2 separate regions of the Homo sapiens genome follow, and region 2 is linked to region 1. Evidence: promoter capture Hi-C in 16 types of primary human blood cells and fetal thymus (Javierre and others, 2016). All regions are on one chromosome and are shown on one strand. Each heading gives the region's core, a stretch centred on a gene start or on the middle of the fragment in contact. The rest is flanking DNA. Distances are from core to core; before and after follow the strand shown.

The links. Contacts are between HindIII fragments. The CHiCAGO score rates a contact against its expected background, and 5 or more counts as called.
Region 2: the fragment with the promoter of SPEM1 here is called in contact with a fragment that was not itself captured in region 1 in 2 of 17 cell types (M1 macrophages and M0 macrophages); the score reaches 6.1 in M1 macrophages.

What each region holds. Positions count from the first base shown.
Region 1 is chr17:7,037,052-7,040,441 of GRCh38, reverse strand. It overlaps SLC16A13 (solute carrier family 16 member 13), which reads right to left. Exons shown (of 4, transcript NM_201566.3): 3 at 1,553-2,290; 4 at 325-679. The coding sequence ends at 480. Among named protein-coding and RNA genes, the nearest start is that of SLC16A13, 2.7 kb to the right of the region's middle. The HindIII fragment of the contact is 1,491 bases long and covers 1,138-2,628 here.
Region 2 is chr17:7,418,545-7,421,934 of GRCh38, reverse strand. It overlaps SPEM1 (spermatid maturation 1), which reads right to left and starts at 1,611. Exons shown (of 3, transcript NM_199339.3): 1 at 1,407-1,611; 2 at 1,248-1,308; 3 at 303-1,054. The coding sequence starts at 1,550. The coding sequence ends at 330. It overlaps NLGN2 (neuroligin 2), which reads right to left. Exons shown (of 7, transcript NM_020795.4): 7 at 2,075-3,390. RefSeq lists an enhancer at 1,608-2,127. The HindIII fragment of the contact is 12,172 bases long and covers 1-3,390 here.

The DNA of each region.
Region 1 (3,390 bases), core at 634-3,133:
AGGCCGAGGGGGGGGGGGGGTGGATCACAAGGTCAGGAGTTCGAGACCATCCTGGCCAACATGGTGAAACCCTGTCTCTACCAAAAATACAAAAAAAAAAAAAAAAAAATAGCCGGGTGTGGTGGCTCCCGCCTGTAATCCCAGCTACTTGGGAGGCTGAGGCAGGAGAATCGCTTGAACCCGGGAAGCGGAGGTTGCAGTGAGCCGAGATCACATCACTGCACTCCAGCCTGGGCAACAGAGCAAGACTCCGTCTCGGGAAAAAGAAAAAAGAAGAAAAGGTTAGGAGAGTAACGGAGAAATAAGAGTCCTCAACAAAATACAAAGGGTTGGCACACACATTGCAGGAGCCCCAGGCCTGCTCTAGGGGGAGGCAGATCAAGAATCTTAAGGCACTGTGGTTCTGTGGAGACCAAGACGTGGCAAGAGAAGACCTGGAGCTGTCAAGCTTTGGCTTTCTGGGCCTGACTCTGTGGAGTTCAGTCCTCTTCCAGCCCCTCCTTGGGTAGGGGAACTTTAGTATCTAGTGCTTCTGTTACAAGGTCCTGGGGCCCGGAGGTAGTAGTTGAGAAGCAGAAGAAGTGGGGCAGGGTGAGGAGAATGCCACTCCCTGAAAGAAGGAAGGCCCCAGCCACCACAAAAGAAGCCGTGTAGTTGCCTGTCACATCCCGGAGGTAGCCTAGGTCCAAGAGAGAAAAAGAATACACATGAGTGATCTATTTGCTGGGGCTGAGGGCTCAGATACATTTTTGGGTGGAGGGAAGACTTATCATCTCAGAGGAGTTGGAACTCCCATGGAATAGTTGGATAAACTTAAGAACTCTGGTTTCCCAAAAGGGCCTCAAAAGTTAATTTCAACCACCTCCCCGCCTTCAGAAAGGACCTCCAAACCAGCCTGCAGGGATTTGGAGATCCAGATTGAGTCAGGCATACTTGTGCCTTTCTTTCTGGCAACTGTGGCCTTTCTTTTTTTTTTTTTTTTGAGACGGAGTCTCGCTCTGTCGCCCAGGCTGAAGTGCAGTGGCGCGATCTCAGCTCACTGCAAGCTCCGCCTCCCGGGTTCATGCCATTCTCCTGCCTCAGCCTCCTGAGTAGCTGGGACTACAGGCGCCCACCAACTGTGGCCTTTCTAAAGCTTCAGTTAATGGGTAAGAGGAGATAAAGGTCTGAAAGTTCTGGCACCCTGAGCCAGCAGAACTTTGACCAGGTGCCTCAGATACCTGGTTTGGGGCCCAGTAGGCCAAAGGAAAGGGTGCACACTGGAATGCTACGTCTGTGTCTGGCCAGGTTCTGCCAGGTCCTCTGCAAACCCAAGCCGTAGGCACCCTGCCAAGGGTTCCACTTAGCTTCTTTTTGTCTTTCCACTCAGACTTTCCCAGCCCCAAGTTCTTTGCCCCATGGACCCATTTCAGGGATGCTATGGTTGGCCACGCAGGCTGTGTACTGTACTACACCAGAGGGCAATATTCACATACACTGTAATGAGAATAGTACCCTCCCCTAGTTGTGCAACATGGCAGCCCTCACCCCCTGGGAACCCCATTCCACTTACCTGAGAGAGGAGGCCCCAGCAGCCCCCCGATGCTCTCTATCATCTGCAACAGTCCCAGGCCACAGTAAATCCTTCTAGTCCCTATTAGTTCAGGCAGCACGGAGAAGGCCAGTGGGGCCAGAGCCCCTGATGTGAAGCCGTAGGCCACAGCCAGAGCCACCAGGGCTGTGGGAGCCTGAGCTACAGGGAACAGGGCTAGTGACACCCCAGTCAAGGTGGTCCAGAGCATCAGGAGTCGTGTCACAGGCCCTGGGACTGCATCTCCCAGCCATCCGGAGACCACACGCCCCACGAGGTCAGAAATAGCAACAACTGAGAGTAGGAAGGCAGCAGGTAGTGGGTCCCAATCCAGGTCCTGGAGATGGGCCACCAGGTGGAGGTAGGGAATGAAGTAGCCAGTGTTGATCAGGGTGAGGGCAACAGTGTAACGGAGGAAGGGGCCATGATGGAGGAGAGAGGTGAGTTGGGCCCTGGGACCACCCACAGCAGGGTCCTCAGCCAGGGAGGGTGGGCGGAGGAGAGCACCACAGGCCACTAGGTGGAGGGAGAGGGCAGACACCAGCAGCAGGGACCCCCTCCAGGCGTAGTGGCTGAGCAGCCACTGGAAAAAGGGGGCAAATGTGAAGGAGGAGAGGCCCACGCCTGTCAGTGCCAGCCCGGTGGCCAGGGATCGTCGGCGAGAGAAATAACAGGACAGGCAGGCCAGGGTCGGAGCGAAGGTCAAAGCCCAGCCAGAGCCTGTCAAAAAGGAAGAAGTGGTGTTGAGAACTCTTAGGGAGCTCAAGGCACACAGTAATCCCCGCATTGCCCAGCAGCAGAATGTAGCACTTGCTTCGGAGTCCCACAGACCTGGGATACAATCTTGGCTTGGATACTTCATAGCTGTGTAACCTTGTGTGTTTTACTTAACACCCCCAGCCTCAACCTTCTCAACTGCAAAATGTAATAATACACTTTTTGGGATTGTGGAAGATTAGAGACAAAGTTTGTAAGGTAACTAGCACAGAACTTTGGAGTTAGACCTGGGCTCTACCATTTCTAGCTGTGTGACCTTCATTTGCCAAGTTGTATAAGCTTTAAAGCTTTTCCCCAGCTGTAAATCCAATAATGATATCGATTTCACAGTCACAGTACCTAGCACCTTTTTTTTTCTTTTTTTTTTTTGAGACGGAGTCTCGCTCTGTCGCCCAGGCTGGAGTGCAGTGGTGCAATCTCGGCTCACTGCAAGCTCTGCTTCCCGGGTTCACACCATTCTCCTGCCTCAGCCTCCCGAGTAGCTGGGACTACAGTCACCTGCCACCACGCCCAGCTAATTTTTTGTGTTTTTAGTAGAGACGTGATTTCACCGTGTTAGCCAGGATGGTCTTGATCTCCTGACCTCGTGATCCGCCCGCCTCGGCCTCCCAAAGTGCTGGGATTACAGGCGTGAGCCACCGTGCCTGGCCCCTAGCACCATTTTATAGTAATTCTTCCTTTTACACTCCAGTCCCATTAGCCCTGGGCTTCTGGGCTTGTATACTTGGTTTCATCTTTTTTTTTTTTTTTTTTGAGACAGAATCTTGCTCTGTCGCCCAGGCTGGAGTGCAGTGGTGCGATCTTGGCTCACTGCAACCTCCGCCTCCCGGGTTCAAGCGATTCTCCTGCCTCAGCCTCCCGAGTAACTGGGATTAGCGCCACCAGGCCCGGCTAATTTTTGTATTTTTGTAGAGACGGGGTTTCACCATGTTGGCCAGGCTGGTCTCAAACTCCTGACCTCGTGATCCACCCGCCTCGGCTTCCCAAAGTGCTGGGATTACAGGCGTGAGCCACCGTGCCCGGCCAGGTTTCATCATCCTTGA
Region 2 (3,390 bases), core at 362-2,861, 380 kb before region 1:
TGAGGTGGGAGACAGTTGGGACTGCAGTGAACTGTGATTGCACCACTGCACTCCAGCCCGGGCAACAGAGAAGACCCTGTCTCAAAAAAAAAAAAAAATTGAAAACAAGGTAGAGGCAGGTAAGAGCCTTGGAACCCAGAAGGGCCTAGGAAAGGCTGAGGACAGGGACAGGCCTGTGGGGCAAAAGGTTAATGAGGGTCCTCAGGGCTCAGGGCCCTGTGGCTAGGGAGAGCATTCTCTTCACAGCCACAGCTTCTAGGTGCTGTGTGGGCCCTGGCACCCCAGCACCACCACAGATCACCTCCTCTCTCCTTTTTATTTTTTTCCAGTCACCTCCCAGTTAGGGAACGGTACACCCAATTCTTGCTTGTCTCCTCGGCAGTGCTGGATCCAGAGGCTAGGGGGTAGCAGCCGGACAGGGCCTCCACCTCCCGGGTCAGTTCCCGAAGCCGCCGTCTCATGTCCCGGGCATCATACACTATTCGGCCTGAGGAGCGGTGCCGGGAAAATTCAGGGATGACTGCTGGGCCCAGGGTGGGAGCTGGGACAGGCTGGTACTGAGCCGCCTCTGCCTCTGGCACCGCCCCCTCCCCACCGTTCTTGTGGCTAGGAGCCTCAGGGCTGGGAGGTGGGGGGTTCACAGGATACACATAGGCCCTTAGGCCCAGCTCGGACCATATGCCTGTTTTGAGGGGCCTTTCCTCTACGGTAGGCTGGAAGCGGATGGTCTGGGGAGGGGACTCTGGGGCATCCTGAGACCAGGGAACCCAGGTCCCCTGAGTGTGTTGGAAGCCTTCCCAGTCCTCAGGGACATCCCAGTGGTAGGAGCAGATGGCTGGGTACTGATGAGGCTTCTCGTCATCAGTGTCAGGAGCCCAAGCTACTGGGCAGTGAGCACAGCGTGTGGGAGAGCCTCGACGGCGATGGCGGTGAGCTGGGGGCGGGGACACAGTCATCATCACAGGGTCCATGGTGCACCGAAGATGGACTGCAGGAGAACTCTGCTTCTTAGGGGGCTGGGTCTGCTTTCTGAGTAATGATGACTTGGGAGCTTCTGTGGATGGGGGAGAGGTGAGACTAGTGGGGAGGCCAGCTCCTACAGGCATGGAGAGGCAGGGCCCAGGAAGGGCAGCCACACAGCTATGTTGTCTGAGAGGGGCGAGCAAGAAGGGAAGGGGCTAATTTAGGGCTGAGGCTAGAGCACTTGGTTTCTGCCCCTCCTATGTCCCAGCCCCCAGACCTCTTACCTTTCTCACAAATGGTATCATGGAACACTTGGTATAAGACACCACGGAATCGGCTCCAGAGCTAGGTGGGGGAAGACACAGTGATCCCAGGTAGGCCCTGGCCGGCAGGCCTGCCCCCCACTATCCCACCAGCTCCCTCCCATCTGGCCCCACCCTGACCAGGGTCACTATATTGATGCTAATGTTAATGCAGATGATGAGGCCCAGCAGCAACAGGACAGAGTTGCCCAGGTCCTGGCAGCTGTTGCTGTTGCAGTTGTGATACGAGGCCCACTCGGGCCTCGGCCGCTCAACCATGGCCATGGGGTCCCTAGGACCACCGGGGCCCTTACGCCCCCAGCCCACCGTGCCGACAGTGTCCACTGACTGCCTGCCTGTCCCTGAGGGTCTTGGGAGTGAACGGGTCACAATGGTGCCAGGCCACTCCCTTCCAGTGTGCCAAGGGGCTACCCTGAGTCCTGGACCCGTGGCTGACCCTCTCGCCTGAGTCCAGGCCTTGGCAGAGGCCATGCCTCTCACCTCACATACCTCTGCTGAGCTAGCTGCCTACACCAGCCCACTGGGCCTCTGGCCTGTTTGACATCTGCCCCCATCAGCCTTTGTCCTTCCATTATAGAACGACACCAGGCTCCAGTCTCGGCATAGACACGGGTCCTGACATTCATTTGCCAAACAGACCCATTACCATGGCAACCAGACCCCAGCACACACTCCCCCTTCCTCTCAGACCTCAGAGCTGGTCACTGAAAAGACCCCTCCTCCCTCGTCACTTCCCCAGGGCTTGTTTCTTTAGAGACCGCCCTCCCCACAACAGAGCAGGCACAACCAACAGTTAAACTTTTATATTTACAATATTCTCTTCATCTTTTGCCAGGTTTAAAAATGTGTACAGAGCCGCAAAGGGTTGGGGTAGGGATAAGGGATTGTCGGGATTGTTTTGGGGAGAGGAGCTGGGCATTGGAGTCCGTGGCTGAATCATGGGGTCCCCCAGCCCCCCTCCCATGCCCCAATTCTGAGGGCATCTGTCTACAGGGTTCAGGGCCCAGGTCTCTAGCATTTGGAGGGCATGGCTGTTTGGAGAGGAGCTAGACCAGGCAGGGGAAAGGATCAGAAAATAACTAATTTTCCATGGATGGAGGTAGGAAGAGAAGGGACAGTCAAGAGGCAAAGTTCTGGGGACTCAAGACCAGGGATTCTGGATTTGGGTGTCAGTGGAAGACAGCACCCCAGCCCCTATTCAAGTTTGGCACTAACACCCCACAAAATGCCAGCAGATGAGGACTCTCCCCTCGTCCACTGTGTCCCTTAAGCCCTTCCAGACATCATTCTTTTCCCAAATGCCCAAGCCCAAGGCCCTCCGGGGAGTCACCTCACACATTTCAAATTATTCCTGCTGGTGTCTGCCCAAGCCCTGTCCCCACTGCCCCCTCCATCTGTTCCCCAGCACCGCTGACCTCATTCTCCCAACCTGTCCGGTGAGACCTTTCTCCCCACTGCCTCCCTCCACCATTCAAGGCTCCTTTCTTTCAGACAAGGAGGGGGCGTGGGTCAGAGGAGGGTGGTCAGCTGAGGAGAAGGCTGGTCTGACACTGAGATGGGGACAGCTTCAAAGAGGGGGACGGAGATGAAGGGGAACGGAGAACTGAGGCAGGGTGGGGGAGACATGGTGAGGAGAAGGGGCACAGGCGGGAGCCCCCTCACCTGCCACATCCCTCGCCCTGTATCCTGCTTGCCCTTAGTTTCCCCTGCCCTGCCTGGGACTGGGAAATTCTTGGCACATTTTGGGAGTCTTTCCGCTCAAATCCACCTACCCAGTTTGGCACGGATGAGCAATGCTCTGAGGCCTGGGGAAAAGGCTGTCCTCGGACCACAATGAGGGCTTTGGTCAAACATGCGTGGCCTCTGCGGGGGGCACGTTGCCACACCCCCTCCCCCCAACTCGGGAGCAAGGGCCGGGCCTCCCTCGGGGTTTGTTCACCCTCCTCAGCTCCTGCCAACTAGAAGTCTGTGCTCACCTGCCATGTGAGGAGGAACTGGGTGCTGGGCCTGAGGCCTGGGGGAGGCAGGGAAGTGCTGGGAAGAGAGGGGCCGTCTGCCTGGGGAAACACACATCCACATGCAAGAACCTGTTTCCACTCAGAGA